2 separate regions of the Homo sapiens genome follow, and region 1 is linked to region 2. The links are contacts of gene promoters, found by promoter capture Hi-C in human tissues and cell types (Jung and others, 2019). All regions are on one chromosome and are shown on one strand. The core of a region is centred on a gene start or on the middle of the fragment in contact, and the rest is flanking DNA. Distances in the headings are between cores, read along the strand shown. Region 1 has its middle 12 kb from the start of CST2. Region 2 holds the start of CST5 (cystatin D).

Region 1 (3,748 bases), core at 1,173-3,672, 41 kb after region 2:
CCAACAGTGTAAAAGCATTCCTATTTCTCCACATCCTCTCCAGCACCTGTTCTTTGCTGACATTTTAATGATTGCCATTCTAACTGGTGTGAGATGATATCTCATTGTGGTTTTGATTTGCATTTCTCTGATGACCAGTGATGGTGAGCATTTTTTCATGTGTCCGTTGGCTACATAAATGTCTTCTTTTAACAAGTGTCTGTTCATATCCTTTGCCCACTTTTTGATGGGGTTGTTTGATTTTTTCTTCTAAATTTGTTTAAGTTCTTTGTAGATTTTGGATATTAGCCCTTTGTCAGATGGATAGATTGCAAGAATTTTCTCCCATTCTCTAGGTTGCCTGTTCACTCTGATGGTAGTTTCTTTTGCTGCGCAGAAGCTCTTTGGTTTAATTAGATCCCATTTGTCTATTTTGGCTTTTGTTGCCATTGCTTTTGGTGTTTTAGTCATGAAGTCCTTGCCCGTGCCTATGTCCTGAATGGTATTGCCTAGGTTTTCTTGTAGTGTTTTAAGGGTTTTAGGTCTAACATTTAAGTCTTTAATCCATCTTGAATTAATTTTTGTATAAGATATAAGGAAGGGATCCAGTTTCAGCTCCCTACATATAGTTAGCCAGTTTTCCCAGCACAATTTATTAAATAGAGAATCCTTTCCCCATTTTTGTTTTTGTCAGGTTTGTCAAAGATCAGATTGTTGTAGATGTGTGGAGTTATTTCTGAGGGCTCTCTTCTGTTCCATTGGTTTATATCACTGTTTTGGTACCAGTACCATGCTGTTTTGGTTACTGTAGCCTTGTAGTATAGTTTGAAGTCAGGTAGCATTATGCCTCCAGCTTTGTTCTTTTGGCTTAGGATTGACTTGGCGATGCGGGCTCTTTTTTGGTTCCATATGAACTTTAAAGTAGTTTTTTCCAATTCTGTGAAGAAAGTCATTGGTAGCTTGAAGGGGATGTCATGAATCTATGATTTACCTTGGGCATTATGGCCATTTTCAGGATATTGATTCTTCCTATCCATGAGCGTGGAATATTCTTCCATTTGTTTGTGTCCTCGTTTATTTCATTGAGCAGTAATTTGTAGTTCTCCTTGAAGAGATCCTTCACATCCCTTGTAAGTTGGATTCCTAGGTATTTTATTCTCTTTGTAGCAGTTGTGAATGGGAGTTCACTCATGATTTGACTCTCTGTTTTTCTGTGATTGGTGTTTAGGAATTCCTGTGATTTTTGCACATTGACTTTGTATCCTTAGACTTTGCTGAATTTGCTTATCAGCTTAAGGAGATTTTGGCTGAGATGATGGGGTTTTCTAAATATACAATCATGTCATCTGCAAACAGGGACAATTCACCTTCCTCATTTCCTAATTGAATACCCTTTATTTCTTTCACTTGCCTTATTGCCCTGGCCAGAACTTCCAACACTGTGTTGAATAGGAGTGGTGAGAGAGAGCATCCCTGTCTTGTGGCAGTTTTCAAAGGGAATGCTTGCAGTTTTTACCCATTCAGTATGATATCAGCTGTGGGTTTGTCATAGATAGCTCTTATTATTTTGAGATATGTTCCATCAATACCTAGTTTATTGAGACTTTTTAGCATGAAGTGCTGTTGAATTTTGTCCAAGGCCTTTTCTGCGTCTATAGAGATAATCATGTGGTTTTCGTCATTTGTTCTGATTATGTGATGGATTACGTTTATTGATTTGCGTATGTTGAACCAGCCTTGCATCCCAGGGATGAAGCCAAGTTGATCTTGGTGGATAAGCTTTTTGATATGCTGCTGGATTCAGTTTGCCAGCATTTTATTGAGGATTTTTGCACTGATGTTCATCAGGAGATTTGGTCTAAAATTCTCTTTTTTGGTTGTGTCTCTGCCAGGCTTTGGTATCGGGATGATGCTGGCCTCATAAAATGAGTTAGTGAGGATTCCCTCTTTTTCTACTGATTGGAATAGTTTCAGAAGGAATGGTACCAGCTCCTGTTTGTAACTGGTAGAATTCAGCTGTGAATCGTTCTGGTCCTGGACTTCTTTTGGTTGGTAGGCTATTAATTATAGCCTCGATTTCAGAGACTGTTATTGTTCTATTCAGGGATTCAACTTCTTCCTGGTTTAGTCTTGGGAGGGTGTATGTGTCCAGGAATTTATCCATTTCTTCTGGAATTTCTAGTTTATTTGAGTAGAGGTGTTTGTAGTATTCTCTGGTAGTAGTTTGTATTTTTGTGGGATTGGTGGTTACATCCCCTTTACCATTTTTTATTGCATCTATTTGATTCTTCTTTCTTTTCTTCTTTATTAGTCTTCCTAGCCATCTATCAATTTTGTTGGTCTCTTAAAAAAAACAGCTCTTGGATTCATTGATTTTTTGAAGAGTTTTTTGTGTCTCTATCTCCTTCGGTTCTGCTCTGTTCTTAGTTATTTCTTGCCTTCTGCTAGCTTTTTGAATTTGTTTGCTTTTATGTGTCTAGTTCTTTTAATTGTGATGTTAGGGTGTCAATTTTAGATCTTTCCTGCTTTCTCTTGTGGGCATTTAGTGATATAAATTTCCCTCTACACACTGCTTTGAATGTGTCCCAGAGATTCTGGTATGTTGTGTCTTTGTTCTCATTGATTTCAAAGAACATCTTTATTTCTGCCTTCATTTTGTTATTTACCCAGTAGTCATTCATGAGCCGGTTGTTCAGTTTCCATGTAGTTATATGATTTTGACTGAGTTTCTTAATGCTGAGTTCTAATTTGATTGTACTGTGGTGTGAGAGACAGTTTGTTGTGATTTCTGTTCTTTTACATTTGCTGAGGAGTGCTTTACTTCCAACTATGTGGTCAATTGTGGAATAAGTGTGAGATGGTGCTGAGAAGAATGTATATTCTGTTGATTTGGGGTGGAGAGTTCTGTAGATGTCTATTAGGTCTGCTTGGTGCAGAGCTGAGTTCAAGTCCTGAATATCCTTGTTAACCTTCTGTCTAATTGATCTGTGTAATATTGACAGTGGGGTGTTAAATTATCCCATTATTATTGTGTGGGAGTCTGAGTCTCTTTGTAGGTCTCTAAGGACTTGTTTCATGAATCTGGGTGCTCCAGTATTGGGTGCATATATATTTAGGAGAGTTAGCTCTTCTCGTTGAATTAATCCCTTTACCATTATGTAATGGCCTTCTTTGTCTCTTTTGATCTTTGTTGGTTTAAAGTCTGTTTGATCAGAGACTAGAATTGCAACTCCTGCTTTTTTTTCTTTCCATTTGCTTGGTAGATCTTCCTCCATCCTTTTATTTTGAGCCTATATCTGTCTCTGCATGTGAGATGGGTCTCCTGAATATAGCACACTGTTGGGTCTTCACTCTTTGTCCAATTTGCCAGTCTGTGTCTTTTAATTGGGGCATTTAGCCCATTTACATTTAAGGTTAATAGCGTTATGTGTGAATTTGATCCTGTCATTATGATGTTAGCTGGCTATTTTGCCCATTAATTGATGCAGTTTCTTCCTAGCATGGATGGTCTTTACAATTTGGCATGTTTTTGCAGTGGCTGCTACTGGTTGTTCCTTTCCATGTTTAGTGCTTCCTTCAGGAGCTCTTGTAAGGCAGGCCTGGTGGTGACAAAATCTCTCAGCATTTGCTTTTTCTGTAAGGGATTTTATTTCTCCCTCACTTATGAAGCTTAGTTTGGCTGGATATGAAATTCCAGGTTGAAAATTCTTTTCTTTAAGAATGTTGAATATTGGCGCCCACTCTCTTCTGGCTTGTAGAGTCTCTTTTG
Region 2 (3,837 bases), core at 769-3,268:
GTCTGGGCTGATCCTGGCCGACCCTCACCTCCACCACTCCCAGGAGAGTCCTCTGGGTGTCCTGCTAAGGCCCAGGGTTTCCTGGTGTTTCTGGCCAAGCCTGCCACCTCGCCATAAGGGCATTTGCCGCAGGATCACCTTCAGGCATGGAGGGGGGGTTGAGAGAACAAAGGGAGCAGCTGTCTGTTCAGAGCCTCCTTCCACCCTCCCTACTCCTGAAGTCACATTCCAGTCCAGGCCCACAGCATCCCGAGCTGGGGGCTTTGTCAGCCCACAGGGCACCCAACTGACCACATCCTCTCAGTCTGTGGAGAAGGAGAACTCTCAATCCTGGCAATGAAGCCACGCTGAGCAAAGGACGAAGACACACCTGGGCTCTCTCTGCAGGATTCCATTCCTGGGAAGCTCAAGGACAGGCAACAAAGGAGTCCACAGGACCAGATGTGGGCTGCCAGGGTCGGGTGGGCATGAGGGTGGGCTTCAGAGGCAGGAGGAAACCATCTGGGGTGAGGCAGATATCACAGGTGTGGACAAAGTGGTAACACAAGTGTATGCATTTATGAAATCCCCCAGATTGGGCACATACAATTAGGCATTTTATTGTGTGTAAATTCTACCTCATTCAATGTAATTTTTAAAATATTACATGAGTTTTCCAAGCAGTGTACAGAGGACCAGTGCTGGCAGCACGTCTCCCAGAGGGGAGGAGCAAGAGAGGCTCTTGGGCTCCCACATTCATCCTGTGGCTGCTGCTCCTTCTCCTGACACCCCCACCACCTGCCAGGGGTCTCCCTGCGCCTTCCACCTGGACACACCCACAGTTACCGTGAGACTCCAGGTCGTTCCCTTCCCTGCTCACACCCCCTCCAGGAGCTTCCTCTTCCTGGAGCAGGCATGCCCAGCCTTGCCTCAGGGCCTTTGCACTGACTATTCCCTGCTGCCTGGGGCTTCTCAACCTTTCCGGTCTCTTAGAGACTTCCCTGACCAGGGTCCAGTAGCACCCACCCTCTCTCTAACTGAGCGACTATAATTCCCTGATCTAAATTGTTGATCACCACTCTGCATCCTCCCACACACCCTAATGGCTGGGCTATGCAGTACCACAGCCACCAGCAGCCACTCGTGGCCACAGGGCACTTGAAATGGGGCTAGTCCACAGTGACGCTTGGTCTAACTGTAAAAAATACACAGGGAACTTCAAGACATTACACTCACACAAAAGAATGTAAACTAGCTCCTTAAGAATAGTCCTGAAGTGTTGAAGTATTTTGGATATATTAGGTTAAAGTAGAAATACCAAAATTACTTTCAGCTGTATCTTTTAACTTTTTCAAATGTGTTTTAAATTGCTCCTGGGTTTCTGTCACATCTCTGTTGGATGGCAGCTCTGCAAGTTCATGTCTACGGCTCTATTGCCCAGACTGCTTGGTGCAGGGGGAAGCTGGTGACAGGTTTGTTTATTGAATAATGAGGAGTTATGAAACGAGAACCCAGTGAACTTTACCCAAAGGTTAATTACTTTATGTTTGGCAAAGAAGTTCCCCAGAAGAGGGCATGGACAAGGTCATCCCGGAGCTTCTGAAACAGCTCCCTGCCCCAGGAATTCCCAGACCATGACCACGTGCTCCTGGATGCCCCTGACATCTGAAGACTTTAGAAGGCCAAGCCCTGTATTTCTCCCTTTCCTGTGGACATAGGTGGTCACCAGGTTTCACAGCCCAGGGAGCGGTGTCACCTCTCTGGAATCCAGAGTGAGCCAAGCTTTAGAGCACTGAGGAAGAGGGGCAGGGCTGTGGGGAGGTTGCGGTCAGGACAGGAGTGGGGAGGAGGATGAGGAGGAGGCATGGGAGGAGCGAAGGGAACTTAGGGAGGGAGGGAGGTGGTTGGGGGTGGAAAGGGAGATAGAGACAGAAGAGGAGGGGTAGAAAGAGGAGGAGGAGCCAGGGGCGGGGCCAGGGAGCAGGTGGGGTTGGGGGACACCCAAGTAGGATAAATGCACAGCTAGCTTCTGGCCTGGGCTTCCTGCCTCAGCCTTCTGCTGCTTTGCTCTCTGGGAGATCCAGCTCCTTGCTCTGTGTCCCAGTAGAACATGATGTGGCCCATGCACACCCCACTGCTGCTGCTGACTGCCTTGATGGTGGCCGTGGCCGGGAGTGCCTCGGCCCAATCTAGGACCTTGGCAGGTGGCATCCATGCCACAGACCTCAATGACAAGAGTGTGCAGTGTGCCCTGGACTTTGCCATCAGCGAGTACAACAAGGTCATTAATAAGGATGAGTACTACAGCCGCCCTCTGCAGGTGATGGCTGCCTACCAGCAGGTGCGTGCTACCACCACCCTGGGGGTCCTGAGTCCCAGCTGGGTTTTTTGCCTCACCCCCCAGAGCACTCCCAGCAAATCAACATTATCTAAACCGCAGACTCATTCAGCTTTCTCTGACTGTCTGCTGATGGTCTTCATGCCCTAGGACACTCCTTGGCCGTGAGTGCATGAGTTCAGCCCTGTCCTGTCCCCTCGGCCTCTTTTAACCTGCAGCAGCCACTGTGTCTGTACCATGACTGTGGCATTTCCCAGGGTCCAGCAGGTGTGGATGGAGACTGTGCTGACTCTGGGTGGGCTTGATGCTGCTCAGGATGAGATCCAGGCCACGAGGTTCATCTTCCTCCCTGAGTCCTCTCCACAGGGGCCACACGGGAACCTGACTCCTTGTCCTGGATAGCCCCGCTTCCCTCCCAAGTCACGCCCCTGGGCACAGCCCGTTATGGCTAGTGGCCTTCACTCTCAGGCTGGCTGACCACCCCCTACAGCCCAGGACAGCTGAGTTCCTGCTGGGGTAGAGCATGCCTGACCCTGCCTCTGCCAGCTAACGCAGAGTTAGACCTCAGCAAAATGAGGACAGCAATCACCCAGCAGAGTGAAGGAGGTGGTTGGGTCCAGAGGGAGGAAGCTTCAGCAGGGCTACCGAGCCCAGCTTGACCTACGTCCCATGGCAGAGCAGCAGTGACACAGCGACCACAGGGCTATATGGCCTGCCAGCCTTTAGAGCTCCTCCACCTTCTCTTGGAAAGTCAGAGGAGTCCAGACCAGCCCTGTTTCTCCTCCTGCAGCCCTCTCCCTGCACAGGAGGGGCATTCCCTGGTGCTGTGGTCCCTGCTGGCCTGCACTCCCTCTTAAGTGTGTCACTCACTGGGAGTGAAGCACAGAATGATGTAGATCGTTGGGCCCTGGAGCCTATTTTACAGAGCAGCAGACTGACACCGGAGGGATCACAGGACTTCCATGTGGTTCTACAGGACTTGTGTGTGGTTCCACAGGGCAAGGTCTAGCACCCTGGTCCCAGGGTCCCTCATCCCATGCTTCTCCACAGTTCTGACAAGTCATGTTTTGGGGCGGCACTGTGCAGGGAAAGCATTCAGTTCTCTTCTGAAGTTGCAACCCTAAGACATGCAGGTGTGTGACTCACTTTAGAAATATTGCCTTGAAAATCACACCTGGAATGGAGGCATGCAGGAGGCAATGTTTATTGGCCTAAAACATCAATGTATGTGAGCATCTCATCTCCTACTGAGAAATGAGGAAAAATACCTCTGGGTTAAATGGCAGGAATGAGATGCTCTGTGGACTGAATGCCAGGAGCTGGAAGTTAGCTGAAATTTCATCATCAGGTGGCAGCCTTCCTAGGATGGGACCAGTGTCCCTGCCCCCTGAGCACAGGTAGCAGAATTCAGTTAATCCTTTGCTGTGGGAAAGAGCATTCACTTGGTGCTTAGACCCTGCCCTGCAAGCCTGGTGCCAGGACTGTTTCTTTGTCCCACCCTGGCTGGTTCCCCAGAGCTG

What was found. Contacts are between HindIII fragments. The study calls those that stand out against the background at their distance.
Region 1: a contact is called between a fragment that was not itself captured here and the fragment with the promoter of CST5 in region 2, in 2 of the 25 tissues and cell types used here (H1 embryonic stem cells and spleen).

The regions. Positions count from the first base shown.
Region 1 is chr20:23,837,268-23,841,015 of GRCh38, reverse strand. No RefSeq gene overlaps it. Among named protein-coding and RNA genes, the nearest start is that of CST2, 12 kb to the right of the region's middle. The HindIII fragment of the contact is 4,139 bases long and covers 353-3,748 here.
Region 2 is chr20:23,877,929-23,881,765 of GRCh38, reverse strand. CST5 (cystatin D) reads left to right here and starts at 2,018. Exons shown (of 3, transcript NM_001900.5): 1 at 2,018-2,320. The coding sequence starts at 2,090. RefSeq lists an enhancer at 1,696-2,525. The HindIII fragment of the contact is 5,935 bases long and covers 102-3,837 here.